2 separate regions of the Homo sapiens genome follow, and region 1 is linked to region 2. The links are contacts of gene promoters, found by promoter capture Hi-C in blood cells and fetal thymus (Javierre and others, 2016). All regions are on one chromosome and are shown on one strand. Each heading gives the region's core, a stretch centred on a gene start or on the middle of the fragment in contact. The rest is flanking DNA. Distances are from core to core; before and after follow the strand shown.

Region 1 (5,523 bases), core at 1,472-3,971, 1.2 Mb after region 2:
AGAGAATATCCAATGAAGTGAGAAAAATATGCAACCCTGTAGCTCTCAGTCTAGACGTTAGTTATCTAAATCACACACTCATCCTGTGGCAGCTGCCGGGGCTGCGTCCACTTACTTCCTCTTCTGAAACAGGCCCTCGTCCAGCTCTAAATAACTCAGCCTTCATTTATTCCTTATTATTCTTCTTTGTTCTTTTTTGCTTATTCTTTAGACTACATCTATTATTTCATGGCTGTGTGAACTTTCACCTCCTTAGGTTACCTCCCAGACATGGACAATGGCCCAGTGTCTATCCTTAGACACCAGGGACTCTGTCGCTTGAAAACCTCTCTTAGAAGGGACCACTTGGGGCCAGGCACGGTGGCTCACGCTTGTAATCCCAGCACTTTGGGAGGCCAAGGAGGGTAGATCACTTGAGGCCAGTTCAAGACCAGACTGGGTAACATGGCAAAACCCCATCTCTACTAAAAATAAAAAAATTAGTTGGGCATGGTGGTGCATGCCTGTAATCCCAGCTATTTGGGAGGCTAGACACGAGAGTTGCTTGAACCTGGGAGGCAGAGGTTGCAGTGAGCTGAAATCGTGCCACTGCACTCCAGCCTGGGCAAAATAGACTCTGTCTCAAAATAAATAAATAAATAAATAAATAAATAAATAGAGACCACTTGGCACCTTGTGGCACCATCTAGAGTAGATTAAGGTGATCTGAGGATGTTACCTTTTGTTTTAATTAACCTATTTGCTTCAGATATTCAGAAGGCCTCACAGCCAAGCAAGGGGGGAATGGTGTGACACATTCTAGATTCCCTTTCTGTTTCTCTTCCTAACCTTCAAAGTTACTGTCCCTGAAGTTCTACTTGTATGTTCAGTACAGAACCCAGGTAGGAGATGCTCTTAGACACTCCTCGTGTTCTGACCTTGCTCCCCATCCACACTTCCTGCCTTAGTCTCTTGTTACCCAGCATCTTCAGGGAATGGATATCCTGGCTGTGAATCCCAGTCTCCTTCTGACTTGATTCCCAATATCTGCTGCCTTCAGAGTAGGTATCAAGTACGATTAAAAGCCCAGGTTCTAAAGCCAAACCAAGTTCAAATTCTGCTTTGGCCATGACCTGGCTGTGAAACTCTGAGTAAGTTACCCAAGCCAAGGTTTAGATTCCCTGTTAGATTTAAAAATAATAATAATGGAAATAATAATACTCACATCATGGGTTATTAGGAAAATCCAGTAAGATCAGTCATGACAAGTGCTTAGCTCTCAGCCACTGTTCAGTCAACATGTGCTTAAAAACAGCTGCTTTCAGACTCAGTCGTGAATCATGGAAGCCTGTTTTTTTCTTTTTGATGTAAGTATCCATCCCTCAGTCTGATCACCTAACCTCATTATTTGTCTATTATTCTCTAATTTAATGGTTCTTTTATATTTTTGGTTTACTAAAAGCTGTTGAATCCTTTTACTTAGGAGACTAAAAGGGGTTTTATTTTATTGTTCTATAGACCTCCTCTGTGGAAAAGGGGAATTTAAAAGTATATATAGCGTAAAGTAAAATAACATAAAATGCGTAAGACTGGCATGCCTTACCTCTGCCAGCTGGTTTCTGCCTCACATTTGATTGAATGACATCCCACCTTTCACTAGCTTTGTAGCCTCACTGGCAGCACTTGTCACATTTGTGCTTTCATTACACCCAGACGCTGTGTGAGAAACTCACCCAACAGCCTGATCACCCAGGCTGGAACCCAATTTTAAACCAATGTGAACTTGAGTCTGCCCCTAGAGGAGTCAAATTTGGCCTGGCCTTTGTACCTACTCAGCCCTGCTGAGTGTCCTATACTGATCCCCATCACCTCTAATTCATTTCATTCCACCAGTGCCTGGGTCCCAGTTTTGACAGATATGTTTCTCTATGGCAAACTTGGCACTTTGAGGGCCTATGTTCTTAAGGGCAAAAGTCATTAAATCTCTTTCCCTCCAATTTTATCTTTCAATTTTATACTCTAAACATACAAGTCTTTCTTCTTAAACTTTTCCTGGTGTTTTGTGGGTACTTCCTTCCCACTCCTTTGAGATTTGGTTGAATAATCTATGTTCCAAAGTAATTGTTTTGAAGCAGGAGATATAAAAAAAAAAACAAGTTTTCTTGGAGGCTGACTCACTGCAAGGCCCAGCGATAGACAGGGCTCTGGAAGGGCTTTGATAACACTATCTGCAGAGCCAGGGCCCTCAAGGGATGGGTTCCAGAGCCTCTCCCTGCCATCCCAGAGCAGGGATGAGAAAAACAAGTTTTTCTTCTCTTTCAGCTTCCGCCTTCCCCCTTATCATTCTCATAATTATTTTGCAAAGTTTTATAAGTTCCTGTTTTTCCCTTCTGTACAGCATGGCAAGGTCACAAGATATGCTTCAGTTGCAAAACCTGTCACTGTTTAACAAACTGCCTTTGTTCTGCTTCTGTAAGCTGCTTACCCACCCTACAGGTTTCACACCATCAAACTGGCCAACCCCCTTTCAAATTCATGTATAAAAGTCAAGCCCTGTCTTTGTTCAGGGCTCAGCCTTTGGGTGTTAATCCGCTGGGCTGGTGCTCACCTAATAAAATCCTCCTGTCCCACCCATTGGTCTCTCCTGTCCCTTAATTCCTGCAACAGTTTTATTATTTAGTTTTACTTCTTTGAGCACTTCTAGATCATCCGCCTGCTTCTTACTTTCACTTCAGTCAATGCTCCAAAGAATGAATCACCAATGGTGGCATCTCAGTTTAATAAGTTACAGAAAGATAATTCCATTTACCACTCAAATCATGCTATGGACTGCATATTCCACCAATGCAGAACACTAGTCTTGAGTAAAACACTGATATAAGAAATATAAATTTCAGGGTAGGTATAGTGTACATGTAAGAGTCTAGCTGGGCATGATGGCTCACGCCTGTAATCCTAGCATTTTGGGCAGCCAAGGCAGGTGGATCGCTTGAGCTCAGGAGTTCCAGACCAACCTGGGCAACATGGTGAAGCCCCATCTTTACAAAAACTACAAAACTTAGGTGTGGTGGTGCACACCTGTGGTCCCAGCTACTTGGGGGGCTGAGGTGGGAGGATCGTTTGAGCCCAGGAGGTCAAGGCTGCAGTGAGCCATGATCTGACCACTGTACTCCAGCCTGGGGGGACAAAATGAGACCATGTCTCAAAAAATAAATAAATAAATAAATAGATAGATAAATAAATAAATAAACAAAGAGTCTAGGGTAACTGGAGTTTAGAGGTTCTTTCAGTACAAATAAGGCCTAAATAAGAATTATCTACATGAATACTCAGGTTGAATAATTTATATTTAAATGAAAAATTGAAGGGAAGCCACATCCTCAGTAAGAGTACAGCATTCAATGTATAGATGAACAAAGACAAATTGATTAAGAATATATTTTAGGGGTCACACCATCCTGAGTTTAAATACTGAGTCCACCACATTGCTAGTTCTGTGACCTTGGGGAAGTTAATTGTTCTAATCCTCATGTTCCTCATCAGTAAAATGAGAATAGCCACAGCATCTATCTTAAAAGTCATTGTGAGTATTGAATAAAATATTCATGTCAGTTGCACATACAAATATTCAATAAGTGTTCACTGCTGCTGTTTTGTTGTAGCTGTTGCTAACTGGAACGTTTGGTAGAGATAATTTTTACCAAAAAAGTTGAGGTTGAGACTCAGGCTTTTTGTGTTGGTCAGTTTGCTTTGATGTGTTTCCAGCCACTTCTTGCTGGTTCTCAGTACCCCAGAGATAACCTATTATATCTAAACATGTTAATATGAAAAGCTCTGGCTGGAGGCAGTGGCTCACACTTGTAATCCCAGCACTTTGGGAGGCCGAGGCAGACAGATCACTTGAGGTCAGGAGTTCGAGACTAGCCTGGCCAACATGGTGAAACCCCATCTCTACTAAAAATACAAAAATCAGCCATGTGTGGTTGTGGGCACTTGTAACCCCAGCTACTCGGGAGGCTGAAGTAGAAGAATCATTTGAACCCAGGAAATGGAGGTTCAATGAGCCATAATCGCACTCTATGAGCCATTGCACTCTAGCCTGGGTGACAAGAGCGAAACTCCGTCTCCACAAAAAAAGAAAAAAGAAAAGATTTTCAAAGTGAGATATGTGTAATATGAACTAACTTATGTTTTAAAGGGGAATATCTATATATCTATGTGCACATAGATATACACATATGTATATATATGTGTGTTATATTTTAATCCTATATATATATGAAAATGATGGTTAATAAGACCTACTGTTTTTCCACATTTCCCAACTAAAGCCCAAAGATAAGAATGAAGAGACACTAAACCTCTGATTTTTGCATTCTAAAGAGAATTGTCAACAAGGACTAAGTGAAGCATCTCTCTCCAGGTTTGTGAAAAGGTAACTCTACTGGCTCTGCTACCTCTGACCAATTTCCCAGCCTCACCATCCTGCTTCTCAGCTTATGTTAGAAGCCTGGGAAAGGGGAGAAGAGTATTTTCACCCCCTTTGCTGTCAGGGTTACCAAGGGAATCCCCTGTGAAGGTGAGAGGTGGTTCTAAGAAGAGACTGGCATCACATTCCTTGGTTGATATTCCCCTCTGCCTGGCTGAGTGAGAAACTGAGCCAGAAAGAGAAGTAGAGACAGATGGCAAGGCAGAGACAGTAGAGCAGGGGTGGAGGACAGCAGAGGAGAAGCCTGAAGCATAAGATAGGGTGTTGCAAGTATATGTGCATATCTGGTACATCAAATGGATCTTCAGAAGTTGCCTGGGCTTGACCAGGTAGACCCAACAGACAGAGGATGAAAGTCACACCCAGCATAGTAAGCCCTCTAACTCCAATCTTGTTTCCTCGCCCTCAACAATGGAGGCTCCAGAGTGTAAAAGAAGGAGAAGGGAAAGGTGTCAGTGACAAATAAGGCCATGTGTCTCTATTCCAGGTGTCAGAGCCAGAGGAGAAGAGTGGACAACCCAACTGCCCACCACAGGTCCCTAGAAGTACAGGTCAAGCCTATGCTGGGGAGAGGCAAACAGGTACAACATACACTGGGTTTGAGATTTAAATTTCTGAGTGGACCAACTTTTAAAAACTGAAAGTGATTGTGAAATTGTGGAATCATTCCAAAAGGTCATTACATTAAGGGATAATAAAGGGGGAAAACAAAAATTGGGGGAAAAAGTGTTAAGACTTGATTGGAAAACTAGTTACATATATCTATCCCACTTACTCCCTTGAGACTACTCTTTATTTTATATCAATCTGTATCTTTTATTATAACCATATGCGTGTATTATTTTTATATGTTAAAATAGTGTTATTTCTTGATGTAGATGCTTACCAAAGTATTTCTCTTTTCTTCTGGGTCCTCAGATTGGCTAATTTCTCAGGTCCCTGGAAGTGAGGGTGAGGCTATTGAAATGTGGGCAGAAGTGATACATGCTACTTCTAGGCCTAAATTCATGAGATCCTTCATAAATGCATTTCTCTTCCCCTAAACACCCCCCTCT
Region 2 (5,516 bases), core at 361-2,860:
TCAGGAGTTTGAGACCAGCCTGGCCAACATAGTGAAACCCCGTCTCTACTAAAAGTTGGACTTTTCAGAAGGTAAAACTCAGGCTGGAAATGTCTTAACTTATTAAGAGATAGAAGCCTGCTAAGGGAAGGAGAGGGAGAAAAGAGAATGCGAAGGTTGAAGCTCACATCAAAGCTGTTAATTTGCACAACTTTAAGAATCCTCCTCTTGTTACTGCCTAATCATGCAGTGTGAGCCTAGGAAAAGGCTCCTCACCTTGACCTCTTATTGAGATGTTGCATGTGATAACATGCATGGCTGTATGGGAAGAGCTCCTTGCTTTCCCGTGGCCACCCTTTAACCCTTGTTCACTTCCAGTGTTGGGAATAGCAGGTACGAGTGGATATACTTTCCTACTCATACTGAGCTGAACACTGGAGGGCCCGTTCTGGAGATGATCCTTTTCCCTGTCATAGGTCACCATCTCATGAACAACCACAGACCACCACCCCCGAATGAAAAGTAAGAGTTATAAAAACATCGAATGCTTTCTCTCTAAGGGACCATAATGGATATCTAAGTAAGTTATAAAAGTAATAATTAAAAAAAAAATTTTTTTTTGAGATGGAGTTTCGCTCTTGTAGCCCAGGCTGGAGTGCAATGGCGCAATCTCGGCTCACTGCAACCTCATCCTCCCGGGTTGGAGCAATTCTCCTGCCTCAGCCTCCCGAGTAGCTGGGATTACAGGCGCCCGCCACCATACCCAACTAGTTTTTGTATTTTTTAGTAGAGACGGGGTTTCACCATGTTGGCCAGGCTGGTCCCGAACTCCTGACATCAGGTGAACCACCCACCTCGGCCTCCCGAAGTTCTGGGATCATAGGCCTGAGCCACCGCTCCCGGCCTAAAATAATTTTTAAAAACGTTCTGTGGTCGAAATGGATATCCACCTTCCTAGAAACACTGCTTTGCCAAGTTGGACGAAATGCGAACCCTAATTTCCCCACGTGCATTAGCTGTAGTCAATCATATTAGATCTAGGGCAGCCCTCGGTTGCTAGTCGTGGGAAGGGCATTCTGCAAGTGTCTAAAACCGCCCGCAAAGCAGTGGGTAAAGCAGCGGCCTAGAGGGGGCATGGCTGTCCCACGCCAAACAGCGTATTAGCCGCAAAACCAGGTACTGGCTGAACCTCAGTTTGCGTCTTCGCTCCGCCGCCTTCTGGAGTCCTTTCTGCCCCTAGAGGACGCAGGTGAGCTAAGCAGCAGTCATGCCCTTTACCATCATGACGCCCGCAGGCGGGACCACCCGGCACTGTAGACAGCTGCCCTTTACAATCATGACTCATAGAAACTACGGCACTCTGGCCGTGGCCGACGTTGCTCCTCCGAAGCATGGCGCCGGCGGGAGTTGTAACCCGGGCTGTCCGGAGCGGGGAGCTGCCCCTCACAAGCATGGCGTCAGCTGAAAATGAAGCCTGTGCTGTGCGGAGCGTCGCCTGCCCCTCACAAGCATGGCGTCTGCAGAAGGTGCTGTGCGGCCGCTGCGGGGCGGCCAGCTGCCCTTCACAAACATGGCGGCCGAGGGGTGCGGGGAGTGGCGGGGTAAGGATGGGAAGCCGAGCAGACGGCCCCAGAACAAGCGGTCATGTGACTGGGAAGATGGCCGTCTTTCCTTGGTAAGGAAGCAGCGGCGGGTGGGCTTTGGAGAGGGGCTGTCCTTACTTGTGATGGGGTCGGCCTGGGTCTGAGAGTGTGAATTCCTCTCTGTCGGGTTCTGGTGGTCGACCGGCCACCCCCAAGTTGTCTTGACCGTAGAATCCCTGGCCGCTACCGCGGTCCAGCGGAGCAATCTGAAGCCAGACTGGCGGGTTCTTGGTTCTCTCCCCGTCTGCTGCCTCTCTGCGCCTTCCACGGGCCCCTGTCCATTCATTCCCTAAAGAAAACTTGAGTTTCCAGGCTTCCGCGTCCCCAGAAGTTGGCGCGGGTTCTGGGGTCGCTGGATGAGGGTAATGGTGGACTCAGCTTTTAAAGTCTGGACGAGTCGGGAGATCTGGCTGTTGGTCAGTTTCCTCAGCTCCTCTGTTCACCTGGAGACTTGCTTTTCTCATCTGTAAAATGGCCGCCATTCATCCTATCCTAGGCACAGCCCTCAGACTTATTCCTTGGCCTCAAGGAGCTGACAGTATAATGGGGCAGACGCACAGTAGAGGGATGTCTAAAGAAGGCATTCGGATGAGGCACCAAGAAGGGAGTGATTATCCCCACCAGGGGGCTAGGGGAAGGCTTCAGAGAGGAGGAGTTAAATTGGGTCTTGGAGGATGAATAGGAGTCCACCATAGGGAGGGCGTGGCGTGTGCCTGGTTGGCAGGCCCGTAGGTCCCTTGTGGTTGGAGTAGCTAGGAATGAGTGACTGAAGCTTCAGGGTTCAGCAGGTGGTATGTGTGTGAGTGAAGAACTTGAGGAAGTTGTGTTGTTGATGATAGTGGGATTTGGGGACGGGGAATCTCTCCTGCATCTCAGAAAGCGAGATAATTTACTTTCTCTTCAAATGATGTGAAGTAGCTTAGATTAAATGAGCAAATGAAAGACCTTAGAAATAATCAGGTACAACCTTCTGCTTTTGAGCTTGATAAACACTTCATTTTGTCTTATTCCTTTCATTTGCCCAACACTTAAGAGACTGCTTCCTTGACACGCTACATCAGCATTGAATGCCTCTGAGCACTTCCACACCCTGAGGTTTTTTTTTTTTTTTCAGTTAATAGTCATGCTGGCTGGGTATGGTGGCTCACGCCTGTAATCCCAGCACTTTGGGAGGCCGAGGCTGGCGGATCACCTGAGGTCAGGGGTTCGAGACCAGCCTGGCCAACATGGCGAAACCTAATCTCTACTAAAAATACAAAAATTAGCTGGGCTAAATTAGTGGTGGCACGCACCTGTAATCCCAGCTACTTGGGAGGGTGAGGCAGGAGAGTCGCTTGAACCTGGGAGGCGGAAGCTGGAGTGAACCGAGATCATGCCACTGCACTCCAGCCTGGGCAACAGTGAGACTCTGTCTCAAAAAAATAATAATAAAAAATGAAAAAGTCATGCTGGCTTGACCAAAAAGCTAACCAAAAACATGAGAAACATTTGACTTCAGTGGATTTATCTGAAGTTTGCAATCAGAAAATCCAGGAAGATGCTGTCTTAATCTCTGCATCCCAGTACATTTCTACCTTTGGAATTTTAATTTTATATTACAAGCAGGCAAACAGGTGCCATAACGCTTTTAGTATTTAGGGTCTCTATAGTTCCTAATATGGCCGTGCTCTAAATATTTTGTTGTTGTTGTTTTTGTTGAGACGGAGTCTCGCCCAGGCTTGATTGCAGTGGCGTGATCTTGGCTCACCGCAACCTCCGCCTCCCGGCTCAAGTGATTCTTTGCCTCACTCTCCCGAGTAGCTGGGATTACAGGCGATGCCACCACACCAGGCTAATTTTTGTATTTTTAGTAGAGACGGTGTTTCATCATGTTGGCCAGGCTGGTCTCGAACTCCTGACCTTAAGTGATCCGCCGACCTCGGGTTCCCAAAGTGCTGGGATTACAGGCGTGAGCTACCACACCCGGCCCGTGCTCTGAACATTTCCTTTTGAAGTATGCATTCATCTTTCAGTTTCCCTAATAGACTTCTTGCTCCTTAAAAGTTAAAAGGACTGGCTGGGCGCGGTCACTCATGCCTGTAATCCCAGCACTTTGGGAGGCCGAGGCAGGCGGACCACCTGAGGTCAGGAGTTCCAAGACCAGCCTGCCCAACGTGGTGAAAGCCCGTCTCCACAAAAATACAAAAAGTAGCCAGGCATGACGGCAGGTTCCTGTAATCCCAGCTACTTAGGAGGCTGAAGTGGGAGAATCGCTTGATCCCGGGAGAATCACTTGATCCCAGGAGGCGGAGGTTGCAGTGAGCCAAGATCGTGCCATTGCACTCCAGCCTGAGCTACTAAGCGAGACTCCGTCTCAAAAAAAAAAAGTTAAAGGGACTGAGTTTTGTCCATCTTTGTATGTGGAGCCTAGAACATAATGGTGAGTGCTGAATAATATTTATGAATGAATGAGGAAACTGAGGAGGACTGCAGAGGAGAAATGAGTTTCTGTCATTAAATTTACATTTATCAAGTCCTTATTTTCTGTCAGACATCACTCGTAAAGTGCGTAACATGTAACATCATTAGGTTCTTATAACAACCCCATGTTGCGGAGGAAGAAATAGAGGCAGAGAGATGAAGCAGTTTACTTAAATTAGCCCCACAAGGGATAGCTGAGGTTTGGAAGCCAGAGGCTATGATAGTAATCATCCTCATCAGCTGGACTTCAAATCTATATCCTGGGCTGAGGTTTCTGGCTTGCGGGGTTCCCCAAATCCCACTGCCTTGTCATGGGTCTCCCCAGGAATGCCTCTTTTTACCCACAGTTTTTGCTATCCCTGCTATATTTTGGCCTGGCTAGGAGATGAGATGTCCTGTATACCCTAGATCACATTTTCCGTTTAATCCTGTGGTTATAGCACACTTGGAAATACCACCCTTTGGACCGGGCAAGGTGGTTCATGCCTCTAATCCCAGCACTTTGGGAGGCTGAGGCGGGTGGATCACTTGATGTCCGGAGTTCAAGACCAGCCTGACCAACATAGTGAAACCCTGTCTCTACTAGAAAAAAAAAAAAATTCCTCAGGCGTGGTGACGGGTGCCTGCAGTCCCAGCTAGTCCAGAGGCTGAGGCAGGAGAATTGCTTGAACCCAGGAGGCAGAGGTTGCAGTGAGCTGAGATCGCGCCACTGCACTCCAGCCTGGATGACACAGTGAGACTCCGTCTCAAAAAAAAAAAAAAAACAACCCTTGGAGTCAGAATCTCTACATCATTTTAAGAGTTTTTTTTATGTGTAGCGGTGAAGGGGGCTGGGTAATATTGTGATTGTGGAAGAAAAAGCTGTGTGGTCCGATTATGTGATTAGTAACCAAAAACTTATTTGAGAATTAAAATAGTTGAGCAAAGCATTTAGTGGATTTTGGTGTTTCCAGTATAAGGAGATTAATTTGGTTAATCATAGTGGGATTTCTGTGTATCCATATTATCAGAGGTAAATAATTTAAAAATAGGCCATTGTCAACCTTTAATGTGCATATAAACCACCTGAGGATTTAGTTAAAATGCAGATCTGATTCTGTAGGCCTGGGGTATTTCAGCCCGCCCAGGTGATGTCATTGCTGGTGATCTGTGAACCACATTTTGAATAGCCAAGGGCTAAGCCCAGCCAATAGTGGAGGTGTGAAATGGTGGCCTTTTTTCCTGTGGCAGGTGCCAGTGATCCAGACAAGCCCTTTACATTACTGGGGGTTGGAATTATGGGGAATTTTTACCAGTTTATATCAACTATGTTAGCAAAAAGAAAAGGAATGATTTTTGAGAAAATGCCCACAAGAGGTCGCTGTTAGCCTTACCAAAGACCCAGAGATTAAAGAAAATGCTTTAACATCTCAGACTTAGGGATCAGAGAGCAAA

The links. Contacts are between HindIII fragments. The CHiCAGO score rates a contact against its expected background, and 5 or more counts as called.
Region 1: a fragment that was not itself captured here is called in contact with the fragment with the promoter of VPS35L in region 2 in 1 of 17 cell types (activated CD4 T cells); the score reaches 5.5 in activated CD4 T cells.

The regions. Positions count from the first base shown.
Region 1 is chr16:20,744,955-20,750,477 of GRCh38, forward strand. It overlaps a transcript of ACSM3 not described here. Among named protein-coding and RNA genes, the nearest start is that of THUMPD1, 5.9 kb to the left of the region's middle. The HindIII fragment of the contact is 7,304 bases long and covers 1-5,523 here.
Region 2 is chr16:19,554,093-19,559,608 of GRCh38, forward strand. VPS35L (VPS35 endosomal protein sorting factor like) reads left to right here and starts at 1,611. Exons shown (of 31, transcript NM_020314.7): 1 at 1,611-1,654. The coding sequence starts at 1,638. RefSeq lists enhancers at 1,206-1,685, 1,245-2,207, 2,066-2,295. The HindIII fragment of the contact is 7,423 bases long and covers 1-2,392 here.